Regions from separate parts of the Homo sapiens genome. Here regions 2, 3 and 4 are each linked to region 1. The links are contacts of gene promoters, found by promoter capture Hi-C in human tissues and cell types (Jung and others, 2019). All regions are on one chromosome and are shown on one strand. Each heading gives the region's core, a stretch centred on a gene start or on the middle of the fragment in contact. The rest is flanking DNA. Distances are from core to core; before and after follow the strand shown.

What was found. The method cuts DNA at HindIII sites, captures the fragments that hold promoters and counts their contacts. A contact is called where the count stands out against the background at its distance.
Region 2: a contact is called between a fragment that was not itself captured here and the fragment with the promoter of FTCD in region 1, in 5 of the 25 tissues and cell types used here (IMR-90 fibroblasts, dorsolateral prefrontal cortex, lymphoblastoid cells and 2 more).
Region 3: a contact is called between a fragment that was not itself captured here and the fragment with the promoter of FTCD in region 1, in 2 of the 25 tissues and cell types used here (H1 embryonic stem cells and mesenchymal stem cells).
Region 4: a fragment that was not itself captured here is called in contact with the fragment with the promoter of FTCD in region 1 in 2 of the 25 tissues and cell types used here (mesenchymal stem cells and spleen).

The regions. Positions count from the first base shown.
Region 1 is chr21:46,153,224-46,157,071 of GRCh38, reverse strand. It overlaps FTCD (formimidoyltransferase cyclodeaminase), which reads left to right and starts at 1,493. Exons shown (of 14, transcript NM_206965.2): 1 at 1,493-1,602; 2 at 2,740-2,923. The coding sequence starts at 1,549. RefSeq lists enhancers at 1,720-2,423, 2,424-3,127, 3,128-3,831, 3,832-3,848. The HindIII fragment of the contact is 26,017 bases long and covers 1-3,848 here.
Region 2 is chr21:46,241,241-46,245,095 of GRCh38, reverse strand. It overlaps MCM3AP (minichromosome maintenance complex component 3 associated protein), which reads left to right. Exons shown (of 28, transcript NM_003906.5): 23 at 1-289; 24 at 1,374-1,631; 25 at 2,165-2,294. All of the region lies in intron 3 of MCM3AP-AS1 (MCM3AP antisense RNA 1), which reads right to left. Among named protein-coding and RNA genes, the nearest start is that of MCM3AP-AS1, 14 kb to the right of the region's middle. The HindIII fragment of the contact is 7,439 bases long and covers 1-3,855 here.
Region 3 is chr21:46,029,843-46,033,246 of GRCh38, reverse strand. No RefSeq gene overlaps it. Among named protein-coding and RNA genes, the nearest start is that of COL6A1, 50 kb to the right of the region's middle. The HindIII fragment of the contact is 8,914 bases long and covers 1-3,404 here.
Region 4 is chr21:46,264,502-46,268,233 of GRCh38, reverse strand. It overlaps MCM3AP (minichromosome maintenance complex component 3 associated protein), which reads left to right. Exons shown (of 28, transcript NM_003906.5): 10 at 1,092-1,252; 11 at 2,068-2,309; 12 at 2,711-2,913. Among named protein-coding and RNA genes, the nearest start is that of MCM3AP, 19 kb to the left of the region's middle. The HindIII fragment of the contact is 5,088 bases long and covers 1-3,732 here.

The DNA of each region.
Region 1 (3,848 bases), core at 244-2,743:
GCCTGGGCAACGTGGTGAGACCTCATGTGTATTTGTCTGATAAAGACATACGCAAGACTGGGTAATTTTTAAAGAAAAAGCAGTTTAATGGACTCAACAGTTCCACAATCATGGTGGAAGGTGAAAGAGGAGCAAAGTCACGTCTTACAAGAGGGTGTGTGCAGGGGAACTGCCCTTTATAAAACCATCGGATCTCGTGAGACCATTCACTATCACAAAAACAGCACCGGAAAAAGCCGCCCCCGTGATTCAGTGACCTCCCACCGGGTCCCTCCCATGACGTGGGAACTATGGGCTCTACAATTCAAGATGAGATTTAGGTGGGGACACAGCCAAACCATATCACCATGTCTACCAAAAATGGAAAAGTTAGCCAGTGTAGTGGTGTGTGCCTGTGGCCCAGATGCTCAGGAGGCTAAGGTGAAAGGACCTCTTGAGCCTGGGGACCAAGGCTGCAGGAAGCCATGATTGTGCCGCTGCACTCCAGCCTGGCTGACAGAGTGAGACTTTGTCTCAAAAAAAAAAAAAAGAGAAAATGATAAAAGCACTGCAAGTGGGCAGCGGCTGAACGTGGAGACAGGAGTTCTCCCTTCTGAGCACGGCCCTGGTGCCGCTGACTTCGTGGGGAGCCTGTAGTCAGGGGAGCAGCAGCTGGGGAGAGCTGGGGTCTCAGCTGCCTTCCCCCATATCGCACATGCCCGTCTCGTGTGTATCTGCACTCTCACACGCGTGTTCCCCTGCCCTGCGCTCACATGTATCTGCACTCACTCTCACATGCTTGCTTCCCCTGCCCCATGCTCACGTGTACCTGCACTCTCACACGTGTGCTCCCCTACCCCACACTCACATGTATCCTCGCTCACTCTCACACGTGTTCCCCTGTCCTGTGCTCACATGTATCCACGCTCTCACACATGTGCTCCCCTGCCTTGTGCTCACGTGTATCTGCACTCTCACGTGTTCCCCTGCCCTGCCCTCACGTGTATCCTCACTCACTCTCACACGCGTGCTCCCCTGCACTCTCCTGTCTGAGCTGAGCTGACCTCAGTTGGGTGCTGCGAGCCAGGGCCTCATGCTGGCCTCTCGCCCTCCACAGCCCCAGGGGTCCAGGCTCCTCCAGGAACAAACGCAGGCCCCACGGGCTGCCTGGAAGGCCTCCCAGAAGGCAGCACAGGGTCACGAGGGTCACCCGCAGTGGCACAGGGAGGCCTCGTCACGACAGGATTCCAGCCAGGCTGGCCTGATGCTCCTGGGGGTCCTCGGCACATGCCCCTTCACCCTGGCATGTGCTTCTTTTCCGGGAACCCACACTCTGGCTGAGTGGAGCCATCCCCTCTGGGTCAACAGCACCCGGGGTGGCTCTGCAGCACCCCACTCCGCGGCTGCACAGGGACCTTGGCCCCACTGCTCCTTGTGCCTTGCTGGTTAATGAGAAGCCGGTGGGGAGGTGCTGCCGGTGAGCGTATAAAGGCCCTGGCGGCGGCTGCGGAGCACTGGCCCTGTCCTTCCATCTGCCCAGAGAGGAGCATCTGGATCAAGGTGCTGGCCATGTCCCAGCTGGTGGAATGCGTCCCCAACTTTTCGGAGGGGAAGAACCAGGAGGTGAGGCCCGAGGAGCTGGTCAAGCATCTAGGGCTGATGGGGCAGCTTGAGTGGCTAAGGCCCAGGCCATGGAGGAGGTGGTGGGCTTGGTGTCCCGGGTCGTCTTCCCAGGATGGGCAGAGCCGCTGCCCGTGGGCCCCAAGGACATCCCGTGGCTCAGGGCCCTGGGGAGTGCCTGACCCAGGGGTGGGTGGAACACGACTGGTGCTTGTGGGGGCTGAGGCTTGGCTGTGGCTTCAGGGGCCTTTCGGGTGCTTTCGGTGGGGGGTTGGGCAGATCTCTGGGCCTCAAAGGGCCTTGGTGCTCCCCCCTGAAAATGGGGCTCCTGCCACTGACTGAAAGGGCTGTGTGAGGCCACACGAGGTGGCCCAGCATGGTCCCCACTGCCGCCTCTCCATCTCCACTGGAGTTAGCTTGCTGAGCCCCCACCCTGCAGCCACCATCCTCACTGGACCCAAAACGAAGTAGGCACAGAGGGGGCAGCAGGCCCCCAGGTCCGGCCTCTCGCCTTCCACAGCCCTGAGGTCCAGGCTCCTCCGGGAACAAACGCAGGCCCTAAGGGCCACCTGGAAGGCCTCCCAGAGCGCAGCACCAGGCCACAGGGGTCACCCGCAGGGGTGCAGGGAGGCCTCGTCATGCCGGGATTCCAGCCAGCACCAAGGCCCTGGGACAGGGCAAGATTTGGGGCTGAGCCCCTGCTCCCAGCAGTCCTGCCACCCGGAAGGTTCTAGGCCCTTCAGGCCCCTCCCCCATGCTGGTGATCTGTCCCTCCCCTGCTCGGGGGTGGGGGTCCCGGCCCCTCTGTGACCTGCGCCTGTGGTCACCTTCTTGGATCCCCGGCCACGTCTCTGGCATCTGTCTGTCGGAGCAGAGCCCGTGAGTCTCTCCTGGAGGCACCACCTGCAGCCCCTTGTGGGGACTGTGCTTGGGCTGGAGTGACTGTGGCTGCTGTGAGGGTTCCCGGGCGGCCGCTGTGTGCGGGCACTTTCGGTGGGAGCTCAGCTTGTCGGAGAGCCCCCAAAGGCTTGGCCCGCCTCCTCAGCCCCCATTTGTGTCTCGGGGTGCAGCCACCTCCAAGCTCCTTTTCCTTCTTTCAAACGGGGAGACTGAGGTGTGGGGGCCGGGCCTGTGTCCCAGGTGATCGACGCCATCTCTGGAGCCATCACACAGACCCCGGGCTGCGTGCTGCTGGATGTGGACGCAGGCCCTTCCACCAACCGCACCGTGTACACCTTCGTGGGGCCGCCGGAGTGCGTGGTGGAGGGGGCCCTCAACGCTGCCCGGGTAGCTTCCCGACTTATCGACATGAGCAGGCACCAAGGTGAGGTCTCTGGGCTCTCCTGTGGCTGCCGTGTCTCAGAATGTCAGGGCCGAGCCCTGTCCTGGTGTCCTGGGAGAGGGGGTAGGCCCGGGGCCCAGGCTTGGAACGTGGGGTCCAGTGGGGCTGGCTCTGGCTCTCCTAGGAGGACCCTGGAGTGTGGGGGTCATGGCCCCCATCCTGCCTGCAGGGCTGTGCTCTGGGGGACCCCCAGGTCGCCACGCTCCCACAGCACCGGGCCACCTTCACGGCTGGGTGGGGGGAGGGGGCCACGCCGGGGAAGGTTTGTGGGCCCCGTCCACCTGCCCACTCGTCAAGGGGGCTGAGAGCCAGTCTTGGAGCAGGCACTGGTGGGGGAAGGGCTGCCTGGAAGCTGACCTGTCAACAGCCCACAAGCCAAACACCTCGGTGGGCAGGCAGGGCCAAAGGTGTGTGGACACACGGGCGCTGGCCAGGGGCTGGGCTGTGGGCCGCTCATGAGAGGCCAGGGATCCACAGTGATCCTGAGGGGTGGATGGATGAGAAGCTTATCTCTAAGTGGCCAGCCCTGGGCGGTGGCGGCAAAGGCGGGGGAGGCTGGCGTCCCCTGGGGTGGGCGCCGACCCACGGCTTGGTGTAGCCACAGCGAGGGACTCAGCTAGTGAGAAGAATGCTCTGGAAACGCAGAGTGGATTCTCGGCTTCAGGGGAGGGGGTTGGGGTGGCCGGAACCCAGCCTCGAGCGCCCCCTCTTGGCCTGGCCGGGGCTGCCTGAGAGCTGAGCTTTGCACCCCTTTCAAAGTTATTTTTGTGAGTGTTAGGAGAGGGACAGGTTTATCCCAGAGATGCCAGACCACCCGCTCAGGTGCTGCTGCTCCTGGGCTGAAGGACCTCCCCCACACTGGCTGGGAGGACGGTGCGGGAACTTCCGTTGTCCCGGGAGGGCTGGT
Region 2 (3,855 bases), core at 637-3,136, 88 kb before region 1:
TTTAGTGGCCGCTTTTTCCATGACAGAAGAGAGAGGCGTCTGGGCGGTCTTGCTTCTCAGGAGCCTGGCGCCATCATTGAGCTGTTTAACAGTGTGCTGCAGTTCCTGGCTTCTGTGGTGTCCTCTGAACAGCTGTGTGACCTGTCCTGGCCTGTCACTGAGTTTGCTGAGGCAGGGGGCAGCCGGCTGCTTCCTCACCTGCACTGGAATGCCCCAGAGCACCTGGCCTGGCTGAAGCAGGCTGTGCTCGGGTTCCAGCTTCCGCAGATGGACCTTCCACCCCTGGGGGGTACGTGCTTGACCTGGGGAGGTCTGGTGGGTGGCTGCAGCCAAGTCTCAGGCTTCCTTCTCACTGTAGTAACCGTCTGGCAGGTGTTGGGCACCAGTGTGAGGGCTGCACGTCCACCTCCGTGTGTCTCCATGCTGTGCTCGCCTGCACCTTCCTTTGGTCCTTTGGGTTCATGAGCCAGAACAAGCTGGGTTTTGTGGAGTGGGGGCTGTTAGCCTTTCCTGACCAGCAAGGCAGTCCATGGGAGTTCACTCAGCTTCAGGAGAAAAGTGACAAGTGGTACTGGGAGGAACACCAACCCTGATCCTGTCCTGCCTGCCCACAGGGTCCCTGTTTTCAGAACAGACAAGGGGCAAAGAGCATGGGGACCATGTAGCCCTGTCCCCAAGCCGCAGCCATGGCACTCAGTGCTGATTTAACATTCTTTCTTTGTCAAAGAGGCCTTCTTCTATGGCTCTGGCTGTGCCCCTGTTCCTGGCTGAGGTCTTTGGGCTGTTTTGACACAGATCCGACAGGCCATCTGGCTGGCTCAAGCCCAGTATGGCATGGGGCTGCTCCTTCCTATGCACTCAGAAGGGAATGAGCTGCTTATCTGGCAGAAGTTGTGGCATTAGCACAGACACTCCCCTTTGGGCCTCAGGCGCCCTTCTAAATTGTGGTGTGTGGTCTGTAGTAGGTCTAACTCATGCTCATTATTGAAGGAACCCAAAGGGAAGCAAACCACTCAGCACAAGCCCTCGGTGCTCTGGTTAGGTTGGGGTTCCCCAAAATAAGCTAAGACTGCTTATACCAGACTCATCTGGGTGCTTGTTAAAATACAGATTTCCTAGGCACAACCACAGGCCTGTACAGTCAGAACTTCTGGGTAGAACTTGGCTAGCAACACTGTTAAGGGGGACTGTCTGCATCCCTCACCTAGACCCTGGGAGCAAGCTGCTCTTCCCCCTCAACAACTGTGGTTCTGCTGTGTTTAGAAAGCAGACTTCTCAACTTCACAGTTGCCTTCTCCTGAGAAAATGTTTTCATGTACATTTTCACCTGTATTTTGGCCAAACCTGTAACTAATGAGGCACTTTCTCCCCAGCCCCCTGGCTCCCCGTGTGCTCCATGGTTGTCCAGTACGCCTCCCAGATCCCCAGCTCACGCCAGACACAGCCTGTCCTCCAGTCCCAGGTGGAGAACCTGCTCCACAGAACCTACTGTAGGTGGAAGAGCAAGAGTCCCTCCCCAGTCCATGGGGCAGGCCCCTCGGTCATGGAGATCCCATGGGATGATCTTATCGCCTTGTGTATCAACCACAAGCTGAGAGACTGGACGCCCCCCCGGCTTCCTGTTACATCAGGTAATTAGAGCTTGATGCAATGGGATCAGCTCCTCACGAGACTTTCCTGGTCCAGTTTCTGCAAAGGAAGATGTTTAGTTGATGTTGCTGCTTTTCTTTTGGGTCTCTATCCTTCCTTTCCTTAGGACTTCCCTCTTCAAGTGAGTGACTTAAAAACATTGAGACAGGCTAGGAAGTTTCTGGTAGAGCCTGAACTCACCTCCCTGAAACAGGCCCCCTAGGATGGCTCTTAGAGAGGATTTTGTGGCTTTTGAGTAGTCATTACTGGCCCTGCCAGTCTCGATGTAAGCTTGTCTGGACTTTGAGTGATGCATGGACCCTGGGAGCCTATTTAACCCAAGTGTGGAAGTCACATAATTGTGTGACTTTAATCAAAGGTCTTGCACTTAAATCAGTGAATTTAAGCACATGCCACCTGTCGCTGTTTAAATATTATTTGTACCTGTTTTTGTTTTTTTGTGTGTGTTTTTTTTTTTTTTGAGACAGGGTTGGCCAGGCTGGCCTCTTTATCTGTTTTTGTATTGTTTTCTCAGAGGCGCTGAGTGAAGATGGTCAGATATGTGTGTATTTTTTTAAAAACGATTTGAAAAAATATGATGTTCCTTTGTCGTGGGAACAAGCCAGGTTGCAGACGCAGAAGGAGCTACAGCTGAGAGAGGGACGGTGAGGTTCATGTTCAGTATGTTTCTGTTGCTTGCTAAACTGTATTTTTCTTGCAAAGTAAATAGAAATTAACATCCTACATGCCAAATCCAGTCCACTGTGGGCAGACTGTGACAAATCCTCAAGGAACAGATCATTCCCATGCAGTAGAAACTATTCTAGAACAAAGTTAAAGCATCTCACTTCATTTATCAGGCATACCTGACCCTGAAATCATACCTAACCAGGAGAGTACAGCTGACATTTCATCTCACTTCCAAATTTGGTTCCAAAGCACAGTACCTAAAAAAGTTCACAAGTATGCTTTCTCCCAGGATAAACAATAACAGTGAAAATCTATTAATGTAATTTGTTGCCATAATAGAAAAATAAGTGGTAATTTTAGCAGGCGTTGAAATACGTTTCTTAAAATTTATACCTGTTCCTGATAAAATTTCTTTATTTTGGGTACTTTCTTTAGCTTGGGTTAAAAAAAAAAAAAGTCCTAACTTGATAAGGCTACCTAACATAAAACTACCAAAATAGAAAAAAAACATGCTTCTTGGTAGAATGTTAGGAACAGTGGAATCAGAACCAGCCTGTTGTCCCGACTATTATTCACTATTGTCCTGGAAATCCTGACCAGTACAGGGATGTGGGATAGACAGGCACAAATACTGAAAGGAAGGAGAAACTGTCATTTCCAGACAGTACAGTTGTCAGTCCAAGAAAAGTCAAGTCCATAGAACCATTCTCAGTTCAATAAGGTGATCAGATAGATAGATCCACAACATGTTAAAAAAAAAAAAATTCTCATTCACAACAATAAACCTGAACAGAAAGGGCACAGGATGGTGGAACTTTGCTGTTCCTTCTTGTTCCCCATAGAGATCCTTGAAGTACCTTCTCCAACTCCATGATACTCTAAAAACTGTTCATCTTCATAATAGGAGTGGAGCCTAATCCTTGGTCTCCTCACCTCCTGGTTTCCCGGAATGTCTTTCTCATTAACATATGAGTTCTCAGGGCCTGTATGTGCAAAGGAAACCTGAACCATTGAGGTTCAGACTAGGTTGTTGACAGGATACAATGCTGTGAAGATGTCAGTACTGGTAAGTTCTAAAATTCATCAGGATAAACAAATATGCATCAATTGCTGAGAAAGTTTTAAATAAGACTAACATGGTTTGCTTGGCCTGATACCAAGACATACAGTAAAGCTCCAGTACTTAAAACCATGTGGGGATGCCAGAGTAGATAAATGGATCAGAATAAAGAGTCAGAATATGTGACAAAAGTGTTAGGCCAAATTATTGAAATTAGTGGGGAAAAGACAAACATTGGCATGTGTTTAGAAAAAAATGTCAGATGCCTTCTCTCTCACCATTTGTAAACATTACTTCCAAATGTATCCAAGAGCTATCTATAAAAAACCTTGCCAATACTAGGGAAGAACAGAATCTGGAACCCTAGGGTGGGAAGCAAGACATGAAGCAGAGAAGCTCCAAAAACCTAGCTGCCTCTTGAGAGCAGAAGCTTCCAAGAGGAACAGGCAGTCTCAATGCCTCTGTGCATAAGGGTC
Region 3 (3,404 bases), core at 518-3,017, 120 kb after region 1:
CCCTCCGAGGCCCGGGACTGGGGGTGTCAGCCGCCCCCTCCGAGGCCCGGGACTGGGGGTGTCAGCCGCCCCCTCCGAGGCCCGGGACTGGGGGTGTCAGCCGCCCCCTCCGAGGCCCGGGACTGGGGGTGTCAGCCGCCCTCTCCGAGGCCCGGGACTGGGTGTGTCAGCTGCCCCCTCCCAAGCCCGGTGTTTGGTGGTTCTGTATGCTTCCAACGCTTGTACTGATGGTTTAATTTTGAACATTTTGGTGAGTGTGTAGTGGTAACTCGTTGTAATTTTAAATGTATATTTTCCTGATAACTAATGGTTTTAAGCACTTTTCAGATGGTTATGGATCTTTTGGATAACCTCTTTGTTATCCAAAAGAAGTTAGGAAGTAAATATAAAAGCTAAGACAACACAAATCTATTAGTTTACATTGCAATGAAAGTCCACGTGGGTCTCACTGGACTAAAACCAAAGTGCCTACAGGCTCCATCCCCTCCTGGGGCTCCAGGGAGAACCCCTGTCCTCGCCTTTTCCAGCTCCAGCTCCGAGCCCAGCTTCTGCCTGTGTCCGTGGCTTGCAGCCCCTTCTCCTAAGCTATGTGGTGGATGTGTGTCTCCTCCAAATCTCATTGTGAAGTATGATCCCACTGTTGGAAATTCAAGGAACGCAGCATTGTCAAAACCATCTGGAAAAGTAAGAACCAATTTGGGTCACTCACACGTCCCAGTTTCAAAGCCACAGTAATCAGGGTGGCATGGTGCTGGCTTAAGGACGGACACACGGAAAAACGGAACAGAGTAGGGTCCAGAGACAAACCTTCACACTTGTAGTCCGTTGATTTTCAGCAAGGGTGATGCACATTCAATGGGAGAGAAAGTCTATTTGACAAACGGTGGGGGGTCAACTGCATAGTCATGTGCAAAAGCATGGATTTATGTTCCACCTCACACCAGATGCAGAAATTAACTTAGATGAATCAATGACCTAAACCTCATAGAAAACACAGAGGCAGCCATCATCAGGACCTTGGATTAGGTAATGGTTCATTAGCAATGACATCAAAAGCACAAGCTACAAAAAAAAAAAAAAAGATAAATCAGGCTTCGTAAAAATCAAACATTCTGTCCTTCTGAAGGCACTTGAGAAAATTAAAATATAACTCACAAAATAGGAAAAACATTTGCAAATCACATATGTCATAACAGTCTATAATCCAGGATATATGAAGAATTGCTACAACCCTGTAATAAGAAGACCAAGAACCCACTTTAGAAGTGAACAAAGGACTCGGCGAGACACTGCTCCAAAGAAGACTTACAAACTGCTAATCCACATGTGGAAACGTCTTCGACGTTGTTAGACGTCAGGGAAATGTCAGGAAACACCACAGTGAGGTACTGCTTCGCGTTCACCAAGACAGCTGCGCTAAAGGACACCCAGCTCTTCCTCTCCTAGGCCCAGGCCAAGAGAACTGAAAACAACCACCACACGCTCACACAAAGGCACAGCAGCATCACTCAGCTGATAGGTGCCCATCGATTGGTGAATGGACGAACGCGATGTGGTGTAGCCGCAGAGTAAACTGTTACTCACCCACAGCCGGAAGTGAGGTACTGACACGTGCCACAGCTCTGTTCTCTGAGTGCTTCTGTGACCCTCGGAGTCATCTTTTATCTTTCATAAGAAATGACCAGTGTTTGCAGCTGAGGTTTGTTGTTGTTTTATCTACTTCCTTCTTGTAGAAGTGCAGGGGCCCAAAGACTTCTTGTAAGTTGGTATCGTCTCTGTTCCTTTTAGATAAAGTTGATATGATTCCTTTAGAAATATTGTGGGTTTTAGTTTATATAAATTGCATTAGATAAAAGCCATACCTGCTGGATGTGGTGGCTCATGCCTGTAATCCCAGCACTTTGGGAGGCCGAGGTGGGCGGTTCACGAGGTCAGGAGATCGAGACCATCCTGGCCAACCTGGTGAAACCCCGTGTCTACTAAAAATACAAAAGTTAGCTGGGTGTGGTGGCGCGTGCCTGTAATCCCAGCTATGTGGGAGGCTGAGGCAGGAGAATCGCTTGAACCTGGGAGGCGGAGATTGCAGTGAGCTGAGATCGCACCACTGCACTCCAGCCCAGCCACAGAGTGAGACTCTGTCGGGGAAAAAAAAAAAAAAAAGGCCACACCTAAAAAAGATTCTTCTGTACCTTAGGTTCTCTGTGAGGCTACTGTGGGATGGTGATCTTCAGATTCTTAGAATATCTATTGGTTAACATAAAAGGCACATCTGTACGATCCTTAGAAAGTCACTTATTTGAAATGGTCTTTGAGGCATTACTTTAAATATTTCTGAGGCTGTCTTTAGTCCTTTTGTGCTGCTATAACAAATGCCACAGACTGTAATTTATAAAGATCAGAAATTTATTTCCTACAATTCTGGAGGCTGAGAAGTCCATGATCAAGGCACCAGAATCTGGTGAAGGGCTTCGTGCAGTGTCCTTACACGGTGGAGAGTGGAAGGGAAATCCACTCCCCAAAGCCCTTTTTACAACACAGATGCATTCATGAGGATAGAGCCCTCATGACCTAAACACCTCCCAACAGGCCCCACCTCCCAGCACCACCGCACTGGGGACCAATTTGCCAACACATGAATTTTGTGGAACACATTCAGACCACAGCAGAGGTCTTAACTAGGGACCTCTTAAGACCCTATTTAAAATAGTCCTATCCTTGGTTTTATATTACTCTGAGACCATGTTATCTGAACAGTGACCTGGATTTGATTTTTATCCTTAAGCTTGATTTTACTTTGAGAATCATATTCTGGCAAGACAGACTGTTCCTCTATAATTTCTCTAAATTTTACTTGAAAATTGAAAAGTTTCTCAGTTCACCTCTTTGCTCTTGAATTTTATTACAGGCAGCTGAAAGAATCCAGGAAGCATCTTCAACACCCCCTGCCCAGAAATTGCCTTAGCTAGGTCATCAGTTTATTAGGAATATTTTCTATTTTCCATGTTCCCTCAGGTGACAGTGTTGCCAAACTTCCACACCATGTAACAAGAACTCCCTTTATCTCCACTTCCAAGAACATTTTAATTACTTCTCTTTAAACTCTAACCAGTAGCCTTATCAAGGCCCATCAGATTTCTGCCCGCTGTCTACTTCCCAAATTAACAAAATTTCAGGTTTTTTTTTTTTCAGCAGAATCCAACTTCCAGCTACCAAAAATCTTAACAATAATTTTGTGTCAGATGTGTGGCTTCATCTTTACTCTGAGACTACATTTTGCTGACAATGACCTGGGTTTTATTTTTGCCCTGAGGACCTTTCTTGCTTTGAGAGCTCTCTGCTGCCTGGAGACATTGTTCTGAGCCCACTATAGTTTTTCTAAAGTCCAGTTTAAAACAACAGTTCAT
Region 4 (3,732 bases), core at 720-3,219, 110 kb before region 1:
TCTATTTTTACTTTTATTTTTATTTATTTATTTTTTTGAGATGGAGTCTCACTTTGTCACCCAGGCTGGAGTGCAGTGGCATGATCTCGGCTCACTGAAACCTCCACCTCCCGGGTTGAAGTGATTCTCCTGCCTCAGCCTCCCTAGTAGCTGGTATTACAGGTGCGTGCCACCACACCCAGCTAATTTTTGTATTTTTAGTAGAGATGGGGTTTCACCATGTTGGCCAGGCTGGTCTCAAACTCCTGGCTTCAAGTGACCCGCCTGCCTTGGCCTCCCAAAGTGCTGGGATTACAGGCGTGAGCCACCACACCCAGCCCCATTGTCTTTTTTTTAAGACACTGGTTCTCACTCTGTCACCTAGGCTGGAGTGCAGTGGTGTGATCAAGGCTTACTGCAGCCTCAACCTCTTGGGCTCAAGCAGTCCTCCCACTTTAGCCTCCCATGTTGCTGGGACCACAGGTGCATGCCACCAAGCCCCACTAATTAAAACAAATTTTTTTTTATAGAGAATAGGATGTAGCTATGTTGCCCAGGCTGGTCTTGAATTCCTGGGCTCAAGTGATCCTCCCACCTTGGCCTCCCAAAGTGCTGGGATTACAGGTATGAGCTACTGCACCTGGTCTCTGTCTTCTTTTTTTTTTTTTAAGGCTCTTGTTAGAATGCCGTGAACAGTTGTCTCCAACTATTATATGTCATTCCACGGGATTGGTTTCCTGCTGGCATTCCATGGTCTCCGGGGTCCTCTGCAGCACCTTCCTGGCCTTTTGTCATGTGGATGCTGCACAGCTGACTTCACCTGGTCTTGTTGATGGACAGTTTGTTTCATGATTTCTCTTATGAATAAAACCTTCACAAGCCATCCTTCTCTATGAGAGTGTTTGCTTGGCACGCATTCCTGAGCACTGCCCCTGAGCAGACCGCCTATGATCTCTAAGCTTGGGTTCCGTGTTGCCAAAGCGCCTTCTGGTGGACTCAGCCCAGGAGGAGCCCATGTGCCCCACGCTGGCCATGGCTGTGGTCATGGGCTGACTGCATGTGTCTGACTGGGCCTTCGTCTGAGACTGCAGTGATTTCGCTCCTCCTCTCAGATCCGCAAGGATGCTCTCCGGGCGCTCAACTTTGCGTACACGGTGAGCACACAGCGATCTACCATCTTTCCCCTGGATGGTGTGGTGCGCATGCTGCTGTTCAGAGACTGTGAAGAGGCCACCGACTTCCTCACCTGCCACGGCCTCACCGTTTCCGACGGGTAAGAGCTGAGAATGGAACTGTGGGGCCCCTGTCTCCTTTTTTCTTGTTAATTCTGATGAAGGGCTGTGAAGGGCTGGCTGCTTGCCTGACTTGAAGAAGGTGCATTCCCTCTGCCATGCAGGTGAACACACGAGACTCAGAATGGCTGGGGGTGTTCCCAAGGTCACATCCTGGCTGTCAGCACATTGAGGGCTCAGACCAAGTTCTTTGTGACTCCAAAATCAGTCCTTTTCATGACTTGCTGACAAACCTAAAGATAAAAGTTAGGGCCTTCTTTATTCTTTCCCTTGACTGCCTTTGCCAGCCAATGACGGACAACCTCTGACGGCTGGGATGGAGGCACCCGCAGGCCAGCCGGAGTCTTCTCCGGTACTTACCAGTCAGAGTGGTGAGACTCACAGACGCTCTCTCAGAAACTGGCAGCTTACACTCAACACCCGGTGCCTAGTTCCCCACCCTGTCTCCTCTAACTCCTCACCTGCCTCCTGCCTGTCTCCTCCTTCCAGTTCTGTCTCCTTCTAGTTCTGTCTCCTCCTTCCAGTTCTGTCCTCAGAAAATTAGACGGTTTTGGGTGAGCCAGCAAGGAGGCAGGAGTGAGTCAGCGTGCGTCTGTTAACACGCTGGGCTTAGTGGTTCTAGGGACCTACAGAGGCTCCAGGGTGGGCGGCAGTGGGACCTGGCGCCTGTGCTTTCTGTTATTTACACATGGCTGTGGTGACACCCAAGGGGCTTGCAGTACTCGGCAGGGCACTGAGGGCGAAGCTGTCTTCTCCCCTGGTGACACCCCTCGGGGGTCTTTTGTGGTCTGGGTAGCTGTGTGGAGCTGAACCGGTCTGCATTCCTGGAACCAGAGGGATTATCCAAGACCAGGAAGTCGGTGTTTATTACTAGGAAGCTGACGGTGTCAGTCGGGGAAATTGTGAACGGAGGGCCATTGCCCCCCGTCCCTCGTCATACCCCTGTGTGCAGCTTCAACTCCCAGAACAAGTACATCGGGGAGAGCCTGGCCGCGGAGCTGCCCGTCAGCACCCAGAGACCCGGCTCCGACACAGTGGGTGAGTGAAGCTGCAGTCGTAGTGAGGGGACTAGCTGCATTTTCCCACCAGAACGCCTCCCAGGAGCCTGGGCATCTGCATTTTCTCGCCAGGACGCCTCCCAGGAGCCTGAGCACCTGTCTTGTCTTGGGGCCCAGGGGTGTGGCTCTTCCTCATGCTCAGATGGTTCTCACTGGGAGTGGACTGAGGGCTTTGAAGCCCTCCTCCTGGCTCCCTGACATCCTGGGGCTTGTTTTTCATGCAAAGCGTATGTTGTCCCACGTAGCTGGTCTCCTGGAGGGCAGGCCAGTCCTCAGGGTCACTGTGGGTGGCCTGGGGCTGTCCCTGCACAGACCTCGGTCCCCGTGGTGCCAGGCACCCTGTGTCTGCAGCTATGTTTTGTCCTGTATGTTTCCTTCCAGGCGGAGGGAGAGGAGAGGAGTGTGGTGTAGAGCCGGATGCACCCCTGTCCAGTCTCCCACAGTCTCTACCAGCCCCTGCGCCCTCACCAGTGCCTCTGCCTCCTGTCCTGGCACTGACCCCGTCTGTGGCGCCCAGCCTCTTCCAGCTGTCTGTGCAGCCTGAACCACCGCCTCCAGAGCCCGTGCCCATGTACTCTGACGAGGTAGGGACTCTTTTTTTCTAGGTCTGGACTCTGGGAAGCCCATTGTGCGCAAACGTCCTTAGTCATCACCCCATGAGGTGGGGCTGTGGCGCCTGGTCTCTCAGGAGAGTCCAGAGAGGGGTCCTGCCTAGAGTCACTCAGCCTCAGGTAGGGCCCACCTATTCAGGCTCATTCTGGAGTCCGTCTTCATCTCAGGAGCTTCCTGTCACAGCACCGGCCTGAGCCCGTGTGTCTGAACTCAACACCCGTCTATTCCTGACGGGATCATTGGCAGCATTGTGCGCCCCCTGATGGGTGTGACCTGGGGTGGCGTGTCCGCCTGGTGGGTGTGGCCTGGGTGGGTGTGTCCCCTTGGGTGTGGCCTGGAGTGGGCATGTCCCCCTGATGGGACCCCAATATGCATGGACTGAGTGTGGGTGTGTCCCCTGAAGGGCATGTCCTGGGGTTGGGTGTCCCCACTGATGGGTGTGACCTGGGATGGGCGTGTCCCCTGGCGGGTGTGCCCCCTGATGGGCATGGCTGGGGTGGCTGTGCCCCCTGATAGGCGTGGCCTCGGGGTGGTCGTGTCCCCTCTGGTGTGTGTGGTCTCTGGCTGTGCACCCTGATGGGCATGGCCTGGGGGTGGGTGAGCCCCTTGACCAGCCTGGCCTGGGGGTGGATGTGCCCCTTGATGGTTGTGGCCTCAGGGTGGGCATGGTCCCGACAGGTGCCTTGATATTGAGTAGAGCCTGTCGACTCCATGGTTGTGAGACTGGATTGTGCCACTCTGGCTGCTTCGGGGCAGGCACTGGGCACCAGCCCATCTGGGGATCAGGGAGT